Linked DNA regions of Homo sapiens: regions 2, 3 and 4 are each linked to region 1. The links are contacts of gene promoters, found by promoter capture Hi-C in human tissues and cell types (Jung and others, 2019). All regions are on one chromosome and are shown on one strand. The core of a region is centred on a gene start or on the middle of the fragment in contact, and the rest is flanking DNA. Distances in the headings are between cores, read along the strand shown. Region 1 holds the start of F10 (coagulation factor X). Region 2 overlaps ADPRHL1 (ADP-ribosylhydrolase like 1). Region 3 overlaps DCUN1D2 (defective in cullin neddylation 1 domain containing 2). Region 4 overlaps DCUN1D2 (defective in cullin neddylation 1 domain containing 2).

What was found. The method cuts DNA at HindIII sites, captures the fragments that hold promoters and counts their contacts. A contact is called where the count stands out against the background at its distance.
Region 2: a contact is called between a fragment that was not itself captured here and the fragment with the promoter of F10 in region 1, in 2 of the 25 tissues and cell types used here (dorsolateral prefrontal cortex and lymphoblastoid cells).
Region 3: a fragment that was not itself captured here is called in contact with the fragment with the promoter of F10 in region 1 in 2 of the 25 tissues and cell types used here (IMR-90 fibroblasts and dorsolateral prefrontal cortex).
Region 4: a fragment that was not itself captured here is called in contact with the fragment with the promoter of F10 in region 1 in 2 of the 25 tissues and cell types used here (liver and mesenchymal stem cells).

The regions. Positions count from the first base shown.
Region 1 is chr13:113,120,721-113,124,279 of GRCh38, reverse strand. F10 (coagulation factor X) reads right to left here and starts at 1,481. Exons shown (of 8, transcript NM_000504.4): 1 at 1,355-1,481. The coding sequence starts at 1,424. The HindIII fragment of the contact is 14,274 bases long and covers 1-3,559 here.
Region 2 is chr13:113,397,521-113,400,944 of GRCh38, reverse strand. ADPRHL1 (ADP-ribosylhydrolase like 1) reads left to right here. Exons shown (of 8, transcript NM_001394807.1): 8 at 1-1,334. Among named protein-coding and RNA genes, the nearest start is that of GRTP1, 35 kb to the right of the region's middle. RefSeq lists a silencer at 2,617-2,911. The HindIII fragment of the contact is 6,890 bases long and covers 1-3,424 here.
Region 3 is chr13:113,458,762-113,462,359 of GRCh38, reverse strand. DCUN1D2 (defective in cullin neddylation 1 domain containing 2) reads left to right here. Exons shown (of 7, transcript NM_001014283.2): 5 at 1,224-1,306; 6 at 2,952-3,048. Among named protein-coding and RNA genes, the nearest start is that of ADPRHL1, 7.1 kb to the right of the region's middle. The HindIII fragment of the contact is 3,864 bases long and covers 1-3,598 here.
Region 4 is chr13:113,481,726-113,485,232 of GRCh38, reverse strand. It overlaps DCUN1D2 (defective in cullin neddylation 1 domain containing 2), which reads left to right. Exons shown (of 7, transcript NM_001014283.2): 2 at 1,177-1,393. Among named protein-coding and RNA genes, the nearest start is that of DCUN1D2, 7.2 kb to the left of the region's middle. The HindIII fragment of the contact is 3,664 bases long and covers 395-3,507 here.

The DNA of each region.
Region 1 (3,559 bases), core at 232-2,731:
TGGGTGGGCTCCTGGCCTGTCTTCTCATCCCCACCCTCTGCTTCTTCCCAGGAAGAGGAGTCCTGCCAACTTCCATTCCCAATAAGCCAGAGCAGCTTCCAGAGTCCCGGGCCGGGCTTAGGGCCTCGGGAGCCCCGGGCCGGGCTTAGGGCCTCAGGATCCTAGAGCATTCCGGCTGCAGAATTTTCTACCAATTCGCGGAAGCATCTGTCTGTTTGCAGAGTAGCTTTGCTGTCGATGATGATGGCATGGGTCCTTCCAGGGCCTTGTTCCACCCACGCTGATCTCATCCCACCACAAGCATCACAGTGGGCTCCTGCAGGGGGCAGTGTGGCCTGAGGGGGAGGAAGAAGGCTGGGCGAGTTGGAGCCACACAGTACCCCATGAAGACGGGAGTCCCGTTCCGCGTGGGAGACAGGAAGATGTGGCTCAGGGGACAGAGGCTGGGGAGGGCAGGGGGTTGAGGGTGGGATGGAGAAGACCCCCGTGTGATGTGACTGGAGCTCCAAGTCACCAGGCGGAGGGGCCGTTTAGGTCAGTGATGCACTGAGGATCCACTCAGCCTTCCCAGGGGTCTCCCCTTTCCACCCCACGAGGGTCTCCCCCTGCTCCGTCTCTCCCTCACACATTCCCTTCCCAGGCCTGGGTCCCCTTGGTGCCCCTGCCTGTCCACTTTGTCCAGGATGCAAACAAGTCTAGGGTCCCTGTCTCTCGTGTCCCCACCAGAGGGGCCTCCTCTTCCTCCGCTGTCCCCAGGCTTGCCTGGCTTCTGTCCTGTCTGGGCCTCTGCTTTTGGACAGACCCGGGGGTCCTGGACAGCCCTGCTGCCCCCACCTGTCCAGCTGTGCATTAGGCAGCTCCTTCCCCGACGGAGCCAGTCCGAGAGTGGTGGCACTGGCTCGGCTCAGCCTCCTCCTCCCTGGGAGCTCCTCTGCTGTGCCCCTCGTCCTGTGCCTCCCTGTGGTGGCAGATGGCTAACTGTCCTGTCTCTGCCTGCCCCAACCCCTCCCTCTCTCTCTGTCTCCGTCTTTCTACCTCTGTCTCTGCCTCTTGGCCTCCCATCTCACTGTGTCTCCGTTTCTCCTTCCCTCTCCCTTTCTCTCTCTGACTCTGTCCTTGTGTTTTTGTCTCTGTGACCTCTGATCCGCCCGTCTGACTCTCAGCCCCAGGGAGCCACAGCTGGCCTTGAGGATGCCGTTGGCTGGAAAGGCCAAGCCCAGCCATCCGAGCCCAGCCTCTGGCAGCACTCAAGGCACCCACCGTCCAGGCTGCAGAGATGAGAGGGTTTCCCCAACTGCCGCCCCTCCCTGCTCCCTGGCGCTGCTTTTGGGTCTGAAGGGCGAGGGGCACTTACGACTTTCCCCGAGCAGCAGGAGGCCAGCCAGGGAGGCACTGAGCAGGACGAGGTGCAGTGGGCGCCCCATGGTGTGGCCGAGTACTGTGTCCCTGTCCTCACTGGGACAGGCTGCTGGAGCAAAGTCCACGCCCCAGCTGGGATGGCTGTTGTCTGGCTGCTTATCACTTGGCTTAGGCCTCCTGATTGGAGCCGAGACCTGCTGGCGAGGCAGGGGAGTGACCACGCTGGGAACACATCCACTCTGGCCCCACCTTCCCCAGGCAGAGCTGGGCGGCCAGAGAGGCCCCGCAGAACCTCATCCTCATCAGTCACCAGGGCCGCGGGTGTGGGGACTTTCTGTTCTAAGAATAAAAACATCATTTCGTGCTCATTTTGTAGTTTCCAGATGTTTACATTTAACTCTCAGTCCTCACATACAAATATCATTTTCCCCATCATTTTTCCAGAAGAGAAAACTAAGTTTAGAGAGCGCAGAAGCCTGAGCCGAGGCCGCTGGCAGTGAGCGTGGGATCTGAGCCCAGGACTTCTGCCCCAAGGCCCTGCTTGTTTCTGGGCGGGCCCTTCCGCTCACAGCCACTCTCTGGGTGGTATCAGGTGGTCTCATGTCACGGGGGGGGCTTGGCATCTGCACCATGGCCTCCCACAGGCCAGGCTGGCACCTGCCCCACCCACCCCCAAACCTTCTGTGCCCGCATGGCCCCAAAACGTACTTCTGTGGGGAGTGACCTTCCCGTGACCATCTGGAGGGACAGGCTGTGTCTGAAGCCCCTCCTGACCTGCCCACCACTGGCCACACTGTTCCGAGGCTGAGAGGGCTTCTGGGCTCGTTCTCCAGTGCAGAAACCTCCCATCACAAGGTCCTGAGTGTCTCTGCTCAATGGCTGTGGGAGTCACTGGGAGGTGCAGCCGGGCTTTTTGCCTCTGGGGTCTCTGGAATAAATGGTCTAAAGCTTGGCCAGTGTGGCGATCACTGCCTGCTATGCCGTAGTGGCCGGGGAGCAATGCCCCTAACACCCACAGCACTGGCCACTGCCTCATGGTGCATCTGCCTTGATGGGTCGCCCTGTCTCGCAGCCACCTGCACATGAGCCTGGTGTGCACACATTGTGCGTCATTGTGCCTGGCACACAGGAGGCACTCACTGAGCCCCACCCGACTGCACAAACTGATGATGCTGGATGCCAACGCCAGGCTGGCCTCCCACGGCGGGCACCACGCACAGCCTGGTCCTCTGAGAAGGGCCTTCCTGGTGGCACCAGATGTCTGACTCCTGCCTCTCCTGGTCTCCACCCTCTGACATCGCCTCTAGGCATGTTTGTATGGAGAGACCAATGCGGTGTGTGCACCAACAGCAGGATGCTCATGGCAGACACGCAGTCTTTGTCATCAATGCTGGGTGGCGATGCTGGCTTTGGTGGCCCAAGCCTGCCGCCTCATCCCACCCTGTCCCAGGCCCATGGCCAGTGGCCTCCCCGTATTCTATCTCGCCACTCACAGAAAGCTGGAGCTGAGCCGTGGCAGGTGGCACGTCCCATATGAAACATGTAGCCTTTGGGGGCGCCCAGGCCCTTCAGCGAAGCCTCTGGGGAGTCCCGGGCCCCCTCCTCCGGCAGCACCATGAGGTGGGCGCCTGCATTTCCCATTGGCAGGAAGGGAGGCTGGCGCTCCACCAGGACCCCGCATGACTCCCCTAGTTTCCTCCTGTGGGTCTGGGTGGGCTCCTGAACTGTCCTCTCATCCCCACCCTCCGCTTCTTCCCAGGAAGAGTCCTGCCAACTTCCACTCCCAAGAAGTCAGAGTGGCTTCCAGAACCCTGGGCTGGGCTTAGGCCCTCAGGAGCCCCGGGCATTCTGGTTGCAGAATTTTCTACCAATTCACTGAAGCATCTGTCTGCAGAGTGGCTTTGCTGTCGATGACCATGGCATGGGCCCTTCCAGGGCCTTGTTCCATCCATGCTGATCTCATCCCACCATAAGCATCACGGTGGGCTCCTGTTTTACACATGAGGAAACTGAGGCATGGTCACTCGGACAAAAGAGAAAGCAGAGCCAGCTCTGACCTGGATCAGGGCCCGCCACTGGCTCCCGTCCCGTTTAGGGGGCATTAGGAACCGGGGTCTGGCCAGGGTCAGCAAGCATCTTCAGCAGAGGTCCTGACACTAACCATGCTGGGCTTGGCGGGTCAGCTGGTCTGTCCGGCTGG
Region 2 (3,424 bases), core at 331-2,830, 280 kb before region 1:
ACTGGAGAAGGCATTGAGTGGTTTTATTTTAAGTGGTGGAAAAAATGATGAGAATCTCCTCCAGATGACAGCTCCGGAAGTGTCGTGCCTGAACCCCTCTCACAGTCTGGCGGGCGCAGAGTCTGTGAGCGGCCAGGAGGCCACCTGCTCGACTGGCCCGTCCTCTCCATGTGCCAGATGCAGCCCAGCATGACACTGCCCTCAGCTCAAAAACAGCACAGCTACTCTGTGTGCAGGAAAAAACTGCCAGTGACTTCACCAGGATTTGAGAACGGTCCGTACGTTCACACTAAGCTGAGACAGCGCAGGTTAGAAGATAGCGCGGGGAAGTATTCACACTTCAGATACGACCATCACGGCCACATGGCTAAGGCCCACACCCTCCCGGGGTGAAATAACTACAGCAGAAGAATGGGGCGCTAACCACCTCCACGGGCATTTTAAATAAAACCCAAAGTTGTTTTGTTTTTTTAAAAAAAAAAAAAAAGAAAGAAAGAAAGTGGCCGGGCACGGTGGCTCATGCCTGTAATCCCAGCACTTTGGGAGGCCGAGGCAGACAGATCACGAGGTCAGGAGATCAAGACCATCCTGGCTAACACAGTGAAACCCTGTCTCTACTAAAAATACAAAAATTAGCCGGGCGTGGTGGTGGGTGCCTGTAGTCCCAGCTACTCGGGAGCCTGAGACAGGAGAATGGCGTGAACCCGGGAGGTGGAGCTTGCAGTGAGCCGAGATTGCGCCACTGCACTCCAGCCTGGGTGACAGAGCGAGACTCCGTCAAAAAAAAAAAAAAAAAGAAGAAAAGAAAAGAAAAGAAAACAGGATATTTATTTTAGCTTCTTAGTTAACATCATTAATTTTGTGTAGTTGAGCGACTCGTTGACTGCCTCCTCCCTGCAGTTTTTTACGGTGCCTCCGGCTGTCGACAGGCCCACTGTGAGCCGCAGGTCTGTGGGTGCAAGTGACAACAGCCGGGCGGGAGGCGGTGCACTCAGGCGGCAGGAAGGTCCCGAGACGGCGACGAGAATGTGGTCATGTTCAGGACACTCGCTCAGGGAGGGTCGTTGTCTGGGATTTTACACGCTCAGCACCACCTCCTTATTCTGTTCTCAGGGTATCTCTGCTGTTGGAGTTACGGTCTTTCGGTTGTGTATTAGGCTACAGCTATTTATTAAATTTGTTCTTGTTCATATTCTTCTTTGTATATAAACAACCCTAAAATGGGTTAGTCAGAAAAAATTACTAAATGTCATTTGTTGTATTCTCTCTGTATTTTTACTAACATCATTCAGCTGGAAATAATTTCAAAAAGAAATAAAATACCTTTCCCATTACAAATCTCTTCCTTGCATTGTTGAAGCAGCCGCATAAATGAAGTAGGACTCAGGCCTGGGGCGAGGGGCAGAGCCCCCATCGGGTGAATGTGGCCAGCCTGGAGCAGTGATCCTGGGCAGGAGGGAGGGTCTGGGGCAAGGCCCCAAGTGGGAGGAGAACTCCTTAGGATGTGCTTAGAGAGACAAGGCCATGCACTCCCCAGACCCTCTCTTGGTCCAGTCAAGACTGTGCCGGCCTCGGAGCAAGACCCAGGGAGCTGGACTTCGGCCACTGCACCTGGGCCGCGGGGGGCCAAAGGGCTGGGGTGTCCTCTGGGACACGGAGGGAGACTGGACAGAAGGGAGGGAAGGAGTATGGGTGCAACGGGCCCAGCAGGCCTGTGAGACACCCTCTGCCCTCCACTACTCTGTATGCAGGAGAACTTTGTAAGTGACTTTTCATGAGGATTTAACAACGGGTGGTTTAAGCTCACGCCAGACCTAGCTGGGAATGCCTGCATTCCAAACCCCTGCTGTGCCCGTGGGTGGCGCGGGTTCTTGGCATCTTGTGAGGAGGAAAGCTTGTTCCACTGAAACGAGCTGATGCCTCGTGTCTGAGAGCACTGGCCCGGCAGCCGAGGCTTTGGGATGGTGCAGGCACCTCTTGTCCTGAAAGAAAACCCCTGTCAATTAAGCTATGACACAGGCTTTCATTAGAACTTTTATTTTATTTTATTTCATTTATTTATTTTGAGACGGAGTCTCGCTCTGCCACCCAGGCTGGAGTGCAGTGGCGTGATCTCGGCTCACTGCAAGCTCTGCCTCCCGGGTTCACGCCACTGTCCTGCCTCAGCCTCCTCAGTAGCTGGGACTACAGGCGCCCGCCAAGACGCCCGGCTAATTTTTTGTATTTTTAGTAGAGACAGGGTTTCACCACGTTATCCAGGATGGTCTCGATCTCCTGACCTCGTGATCCGCCTGCCTCGGCCTCCCAAAGTGCTGGGATTACAGGCGTGAGCCTCTGCGACCGGCTAGAACTTTTAAAAGCACTTATTGAGGGCGTCTGTGAGACTGGTGTACATAGAAGTCTGATCAAACCCCATTCTTGGGATATTGTTATAAGCTTGGGGTAGACAAATGTTTCCCTGAACAGAAGAAAAAGCCCCAACCACAAAAGGAAGTGCCGGGACATTTGTCTGTTTGAGCGTCGGTGCATTTGCTGAATCTTTATGGCCGCCATGGATTTTTGACAGGAATGGATGTCACGTAGCCCCCAAAGCCCAGGACTGAGCAGCTGAGCAGTGCACGCCGTTTCTCTGACAGCGAGAGGACTGGCCTGGCTCAGGTCCACAACCCCAGGCGGTGTCTGGGAAGCCACTCGAAGGCACAGGAGCCTACTAGAAGCCCCATCTGTGCACACCCCAAACTCGTGAAAGTGCCGAGGCATCTTCTCCTAGAAGAACAAAGGAGGCCAAGCGGGGAGTGAAGGCAACAGTGTCTACAGTGGTCCGTTTCCAAGACAAAGTGCCTTGAATCGGCTTAAGTCAGCAAACTACAGAAGAAACAGGAGGTCCGAGGCCCCTGCCTGGATCGCCAGTGCCTGCTTGCCGGCCTCCCCTTCTCCCTCCCTTCCCCCCGGCCCTTAGGTGCTCTCACCTGAACTAAAGAAGTTTAGTCTAAGATAACAGTTTACTAGCCTGCAAAATAGCTGGCTTTGTCTGTTCTTATCAGCCTGCCCAGCTACTTAGGTCATAAGTCAAATACTTGAAGAGCCCCTGGGCTGACTGGGATTGCAATGCATTGTGGGCTGCAACAAAATGCAACAGGACACCCCTAAAAAAAACACCTACAGCCCCTGCCCAACAACCAATAGGTGACGTCCCAGAAGACTGTGACCCCAGAGTACTCAGCCTGTGAGGAACCCGGGGAGACACCTGTGCACTAGGGGATAAATTATTTGTTGAAACTGTGCTGGCTGTGGCTGCCCATCAGACACCCGATCTTGCAAGACCATCATCAACAGTCTCACTTTCAGCCAGGTGCAGTGGCTCATGCCTGTAATCCCAGCACTTTGGGAGGCTGAGGCAGGCAGATCACAAGGTCAGGAGTTC
Region 3 (3,598 bases), core at 665-3,164, 340 kb before region 1:
TTTTATTGCCTAAAAGTGGTGAACACTATTCAACATGATTAAAGGAGGTCACTTTATGTATTTATTTTTTATTTTATTTATTTATTTATTTAATTTTTTTTTTTTTTGAGACGGAGTTTCGCTCTTGTTGCCCAGGCTGGAGTGCAGTGGCGCAATCTCGGCTCACCACAACCTCCGCCTCCCAGGTTCAAGTGATTCTCCTGCCTCAGCCTCCCCAGTAGCTGGGACTACAGGCATGAGCCACCACGCCCAGCTAATTTTGTATTTTTAGTAGAGACGGGGTTTCTCCATGTTGGTCAGGCTGGTCTCAAACTCCTGACCTCAGGTGATCCACCCGCCTCAGCCTCCCAAAGTGCTGAGATTACAGGCGTGAGCCACCACGCCCGGCCGGTCACTTTAAAAAAATAGAATTCTGAACCCCTTTATATACTTGCTGTGTCAAGCATATAAAAAGAAATCGTTATCAAGCTTCTGGTGAGCAGAGAATAAATCAGTGTTTCACAAACTATGGATTGGAGACAGCCCTGAAACTCGGCATTCATATTCTATTAGACATCTTCAGTAGCAGAGATTTATATAGAAGTCGTGAAATAATCACCACCTTCCCGTGTGGGAAAAGAGGGCGTTGGCTTTGATTGATACGCAGTGTCCTGTGTAGATGCATCAGTGAGAACGCTTTCCCTGCTAGCTGCCGATTTGACTTGACACTTTAGGGACAAATTGGAGCCCTCATAAGGCCGCTGTAATTACTTGTGAAACAGATTCTGTCTTAGTTCATATAGCAACAAGGCAGGTCTATTTGGAGAACAGTGTGTCCCTTCCTTCCTAAACTGGTCCTTTGATTTGCAGTTCGACACTCAGGCCAGTGGCCTATTTTTAAAAACAAATGATACGCATTAATAGTATCCAGATCAGGTCAGGTTTAAAGAACACCCAATATGTGTGAAAAGGCAAGTCTCCAAAACTGATTAATTAGGGGGGAATTGTGTGCATATCCAAATAACTTAATATACAAATCCTTTTAAAAAGAGTTTCCCCAGATTTATAAAATTAGACTACGTACAGTTCTCAGGAGCACTTCCGTAGAGATTAAGCCTCATGACTCTTGGGTGAGATTGCCACATTTTATTAAGTAAATATTGACATGCTAAGAAGTGGTCGTTTTTTGTGCAGTAGAAAAAGAGAGTGAGATTTACTAACTGCTCTTTCTTTCTTTTTACCAGACTTAGAAATGGCTGTTGCGTATTGGAAATTAGTGTTATCTGGAAGGTTTAAATTTTTAGATCTCTGGAACACATTCTTAATGGTAAGTGTCCTCCTGCATCTCGCTGTGTGCCCACTGTGGAGGGAAGTCGGTAGGTATGAGGCTGCATGTAATCATCCACCTCAGGTCTCACACGTGGAGGTTTTCAGCAGATGAACATCCCACACAAAGATCCGCAGGTCCAGACAGGTTGCCACTTGGCTCTGTCACCTTGCCGGAGACTGCAGGGCTGAGCTGGGGCCACTCCGGGGCCTCCTCAGAACGTGGCTTCTTGGCAGTCACGGGAAGCTCCTCTCAGGCTGGGGTTCCTGGAGACTCTGCAACCCCAGCAGCCCCCGTGTTGTCTCCTCTGAGGACCTAGACGGTAATTCTGTCTTTCCACTGAGAACTCCGAATCCTCGACATGGTGCCAGCGCCACACTTCTGTGGACTGGTTTGGGCTCCGGAACTGCGGATTGTATGTGGCGGTGCCCAGCCTCTGTGTGTGTCTGTGGTCTGAAGCCATTTCTAAGTGTGTCTCACCATGCTCAGGAGGAAAAGAGGCCTTTGTGGACCCTCTGGAGAGACACTTTGCTGGTGCGGGGCAAGGCTGCGTCATGCCAGCCCGTCTTGCTGGCAGCAGGTGCAGCTGTGGGTTTTTGGAAGTGAGTGGCCACAAGCCCGGTAATGGCAGAGATGCCCAGACCTCTTGCTGTTCTGTCCATGAAAGTGAAAGAAGTGGTCTTCCACCGCCCAACCCACGGCCGGGCCAGGACCCGCACTGCCTCCCTTCACCTGACACCAGGTGACACAGACTTTGCCACTTAGAGTCCTGTGGCCTTGGGCACGTCACTTCCGCTTCCTTGCCTGGGAATGGTACCCAGAGAGTGTGGCAGGTGGAGGGCGGAGCTGTCTGTGGAAGGTGACGTCACTCAGTCCTGTGGGTTTGCCATGGAGAGACGTCTTTGCAGCTATGTGTTTCATTACATCATGTGCTGTATTACTTCTCTCGAAATATCCAGAGGTCAGTAATGCTGTGCCCACAGCCCCCTTACGCCTTACCTGGGGTCAAACCTAAGTCACAGATGTTTCCCAGAGAACCTCACGCTCTTGTGCGTGGAGAAGGGGATGAAGGCGCTCACAGTGTCATTGTAACGGCAGAATACTGGAAAAGCCAGTGACCATCCACAGGAGAACGGACTAAAAAATCAGAATATTGGTGCGATGGAGCACGGCTTTGGAGCCACGCAAAGGAACGCACATTCACACACGTCAGCCCGCATACGTTTCAGACATTATGCTGAGTGGGAAAAAAACAAGTTGCAGAAAACTATGTGTAATTTGATAGCAGTTAATGTTTTAAAATGTAAGACAAGCTTATGAGCTGTTCGTGAATATATATATACATGCAGCTAATGGGCAGGTAACGAGATTAAAATGCTGCCCTTCTATGTGACAAAACAGGAGTTTATAATTGTAATATTTAAAATGTTTTGTTCTTAAATAAATCTGCTTTCTATATTTGGACATTAGCGTTGTTGTAGCACTTAACATTTATACAGAACGCTATTACTTTTAACAATTTTATTGTACTTGTTCCTAATCAAATTAATGAACATTAATTGAAGATCGCTAGGCCACTAGAATATATGAGAGTTAAGCTCTGTATTTTAAACCTGGTGGGTTTTTTTTTTCTCTCATATATTAGGAACATCACAAAAGATCAATTCCAAGGGACACCTGGAACCTCCTGCTGGACTTTGGAAACATGATTGCGGATGATATGTCTAACTACGATGAAGAAGGTACCGGAAGTTGTGCTTCAGATGATTGACCGAAATGCTTACACCTGAGAACGTTAACTTCTCCTGCCTCTAGAGTGGTGACCCCGTCACTGAGATGGGCGTGGTCATAATACTACCCCCTTCCTTATTATTTTCTGTAAATCATACAAAAGAAAAATAGGGTTTTATATTTAGTGTAAATCAAGAAGACAGTCCTCTAAGCCAAAGCATTTCAGAATTGGATGTGAAGAGTTAGAGACCCCCATGGTGGAGCCATGGAGTTAGGTATTGGGAAACCACCACTCCCAGATTCTCAGTCCCGCATGATGCCTTAGGTCAGTTCCACACTGCACTCTTCAGGCTGACTCGGAGATTCCAGCTCCTGTCTTCTTGCATAAATATATCTCCACATACTTGTCTCCCCCCGTGTTTAGGACTCTGCGTTGGAGGGCCTTTGGAGCCTGCTGTGTGCTGGGCACGCTGCCACCTTAGAGAGGGATGGTCTCTGGGTGGAAGGCCTCCCCTCTAGGCTCCCACCCACTTTGCTTCCTCCCTGCCCCCTCGGCGGGCA
Region 4 (3,507 bases), core at 977-3,476, 360 kb before region 1:
CTTATATTATTGTGTAAAGCATTTTTGTAAAACGTTAGCATCCAGTGGATTCTAGGGTCTGTTTGGATTTAGAGAAGTTAGTGTATCACTTTCTTTTCCAGTGTTGCTTTTATCAGGTTACTTTATTTATTTATTTATTTATTTATTTATTTATTGAGATAGAGTCTCGCCCTGTCGCCCAGGCTGGAGTGCAGTGGCACGATCTCAGCTCGCTGCAATCTCCACCTCCCAGGTTCAAGTGATTCTCCTGCCTCAGCCTCCCAAGTAGCTGGGACTATAGGCGCATGCCACCACACCCAGCTAATTTTTGTATTTTTAGTAGAGATGGGGTTTCTCCATGTTGGCCAGGATGGTCTTGAACTCCTGACCTCAGGTGATCCGCCTCAGCCTCCCAAAGTGCTGGGATTACATCATCAAGTTACTTTAGATAAGTGGAAACTCAGCCCTCCTATATCTGAAAGTGTCAAGATGTTACTTTGTTTCATTATATACTATATATAGTACAGCTATTTGGCAGTTTTGTTATTTATTGCCTGCCCAGAGCCTCTGTCCTATTTTTTCATTTTATTTCTGTCTGGTATACAGAGGCATTCTTGTTATTAGTATTATTGTTTCCATTTAATCATAACAGGTTTTTTTGTGCCTGCTTGTGAAATTTTCATAAATTACTTTTAACGCTATTCTTAGTTATTTGTGTACATTTTCATCAATGTGATTCTGTGATTTAAAGTGGGAAAAAAAATCTCCAAACCGCACAGCCTCTTCCCATTCATTAAAGCCTGAACTTTATTGAAACCAAAGAAGACTGCAGCTGTGACCCCCGCTGGTGCCGTAAGGTCCTTGCCCTGTGTCCTCAGAGGCTAGATGTGCATTACAGAGTTACTGAGAGTTTTAGAGAAAAATGATAGTCACACTTCATGCAGAGTGAACTGGATAGAGATCAGAATGTATTTTGTATAAAATGTTAATTCTCATAATTTTTGAAGCTTAGACTGCCTGTTTGTTACAGTATAGATGCTGTTGTTTCCATTTTCAGAAGACTGTGCAGTCTTTGTAACTGATGAAGAGCAAGGCTTTGTCTCTAATTCTGCCCAGTTAAAGTGCAGGCGTTAGGCTAAAGCTGGGACAAACCTGGAGCGGCTTCATTGGCTTTCCTACTTCTTTTGCATCCCAAAGCATAAGCTTAAATCGTCTCAGAAGGACAAGGTCCGCCAGTTTATGGCGTGCACTCAGGCTGGCGAGAGAACTGCTATCTACTGCTTAACGCAGAATGAGTGGAGACTAGACGAGGCCACGGACAGCTTCTTCCAAAACCCAGACTCGCTCCACAGGGAGTCCATGCGGAACGCTGTGGACAAGAAGAAGCTGGAGCGGCTGTACGGCAGGTACAAAGGTAAGAGGAGACTGCAGCAAAGCCGGACGGATGTCGGCCTCCGCGAGCGGCCTGCGCGCTGCACTTCCAGGGTTCTGGTGCCGGGGCAGGTCTCCGGGCTGCCGTTGCTTCTCCTCCCCACGCTCAGCGCTCGGCGCTCAGCTGCAGAATCCACTTGCTTCTGTGTAAATGGGGCTGGGACTGTGATTGGTGGGGGTGGGGAGGGCGAGAAGAGTGGAGTCAGCGATGGGGCAGGGCCAGGCCCGTGCCCGCTTGTTCTGTGCGGTGAGTCTGACGCTGCACAGCCTGTCAGGGAAAAGCTGCTGCTGGGAGGCTTGGTGTCTTGGCGTGACTGTGTCTGTTAATACAGTATTTTTTTCAAGCACTTCTATTTAGGCTGAAATATTGATGATGAGAAGGTTAAGAACAACAGCAAATCATGAAGATGATCTGAAGTGAGGGTAAACCTTAGTGTTTTCCTTGCCCGGGTAGTGGCGTGTCAGCCCTGAAATAGCTTCAGTGATTAGAGAGGCTTTGGGAAAAGCTCGCAGCAAAGAAACTTTTTGTTGCAGATTGTGATTTTTATTGACATCAGTGCTTGGATCGGAGCTTCTTGTCAAAATGCTTCTTGTCAAAATGTGCCTTGAACTGAGACTGCCGTGATGAGCATACGCAGATCCACGCCCCTCTGCAGGCTTTAAATTTCATGTCCAATGCAGAGGGACAGGCAGCAGTCTAAGAGCTGACTTATTTTGCTTTTTCTTTCTAGCAGTTTTTAAGGCTAAGTTTTCTAAAACTTTAAAACAAAACCAAGCCCTGACTCTCATTTAAACAAGTGTTAGCCCAAATATACAATAATTTCCTTGGCTTTAAGTTCTTGTTTGTTTGTTTATTGTTGTCTGTGTGTGTGTGTGTTTATGTGACGGAGTCTTGCTCTGTCACCAGGCTGGAGTGCAGTGGTATGATCTCGGCTCACTGCATCCTCTGCCTCCCACATTCAAGCGATTCTCCTGCCTCAGCCTCCAAAGTAGCTGGGACTACAGGTGCATGCCACCACGCCCAGCTAATTTTTGTATTTTTAGTAGAGACGGGGTTTCACCATGTTGGCCAGGATGGTCTCAATCTCTTGACCTCATGATCCACCCGCCTCGGCCTCCCAAAGTGCTGGGATTACAGGCATGAGGCACCGCACCCAGCCAAGTTCTTGTTTATTTATTACTTTCGTTTTTTACTTTTTAAAATACTGTGTGTGTGCTTTAGTCTTTCTTTTTAGGTCTGAAAAGTGAGTTGAAAATTGCTTTAAAAAATCTTGGCTCAGAAACATAGTCAGTGGTAAAACAAACCAGGTTTGTACTTATTGTAGTTCCCAAAGAATGAAAATTGTTCTTAGTTAAGCTTTAGTCTACTTTAAAAATTTTTGGCTAAGTTAATTGTTGAGCTAATTTTGTAAGTCATATGCTGATTTTTATGCAGATTTTTAAAAGTTATTTAAATATATACAGCAGCCTTTGAAAAAATACTTGTGTATAAGTGGAAAATTGTGTCTTTGGGTGTTATTGAAGCTTCATCCCTTCATTATTATTTAACTTTATTCATGCAATTATACTCAGTTAAAGTAGAAACGTGGTACAATCACTTTAGGCTCTAAAAATAAACGTAGTTCTAAGACTGTTGACAAATATAACATTGGTTATGACATTAACATATACAAATGAACAAGTACTTGCAAAATTACTTGAAATGTTGAACACGGTTGTAATGAAATTTACTGAGATGGTTTATTAGCTCAGAGCATTGTAGATCAATATTTCTATTCATGAAGTATAGAATTAGGAGATGGAATTGAATAAGGTGATAAGTGGGGATTTTTTTTACAGAACCTCTGTCCCATAAACTATGCTGAGGTTGTTTTCTCCCTGATATAAGAGAATAGAGTTAGAAGGATGTTTATGGCTTTCTTCATTTTGTTACCAATTTTTCTTTTTTTTTTTTTTTGTCACCCAGGCTGGAGTGCAATGGCATGATCTTGGCTCACTGCAACCTCCACCTCCTGGGTTCAAGCGATTCTCCTGCCTCAGCCCCCCGAGTAGCTGGGACTATAGGCGTGAGCCACCCCGCCCAGTTAATTTTTGTAT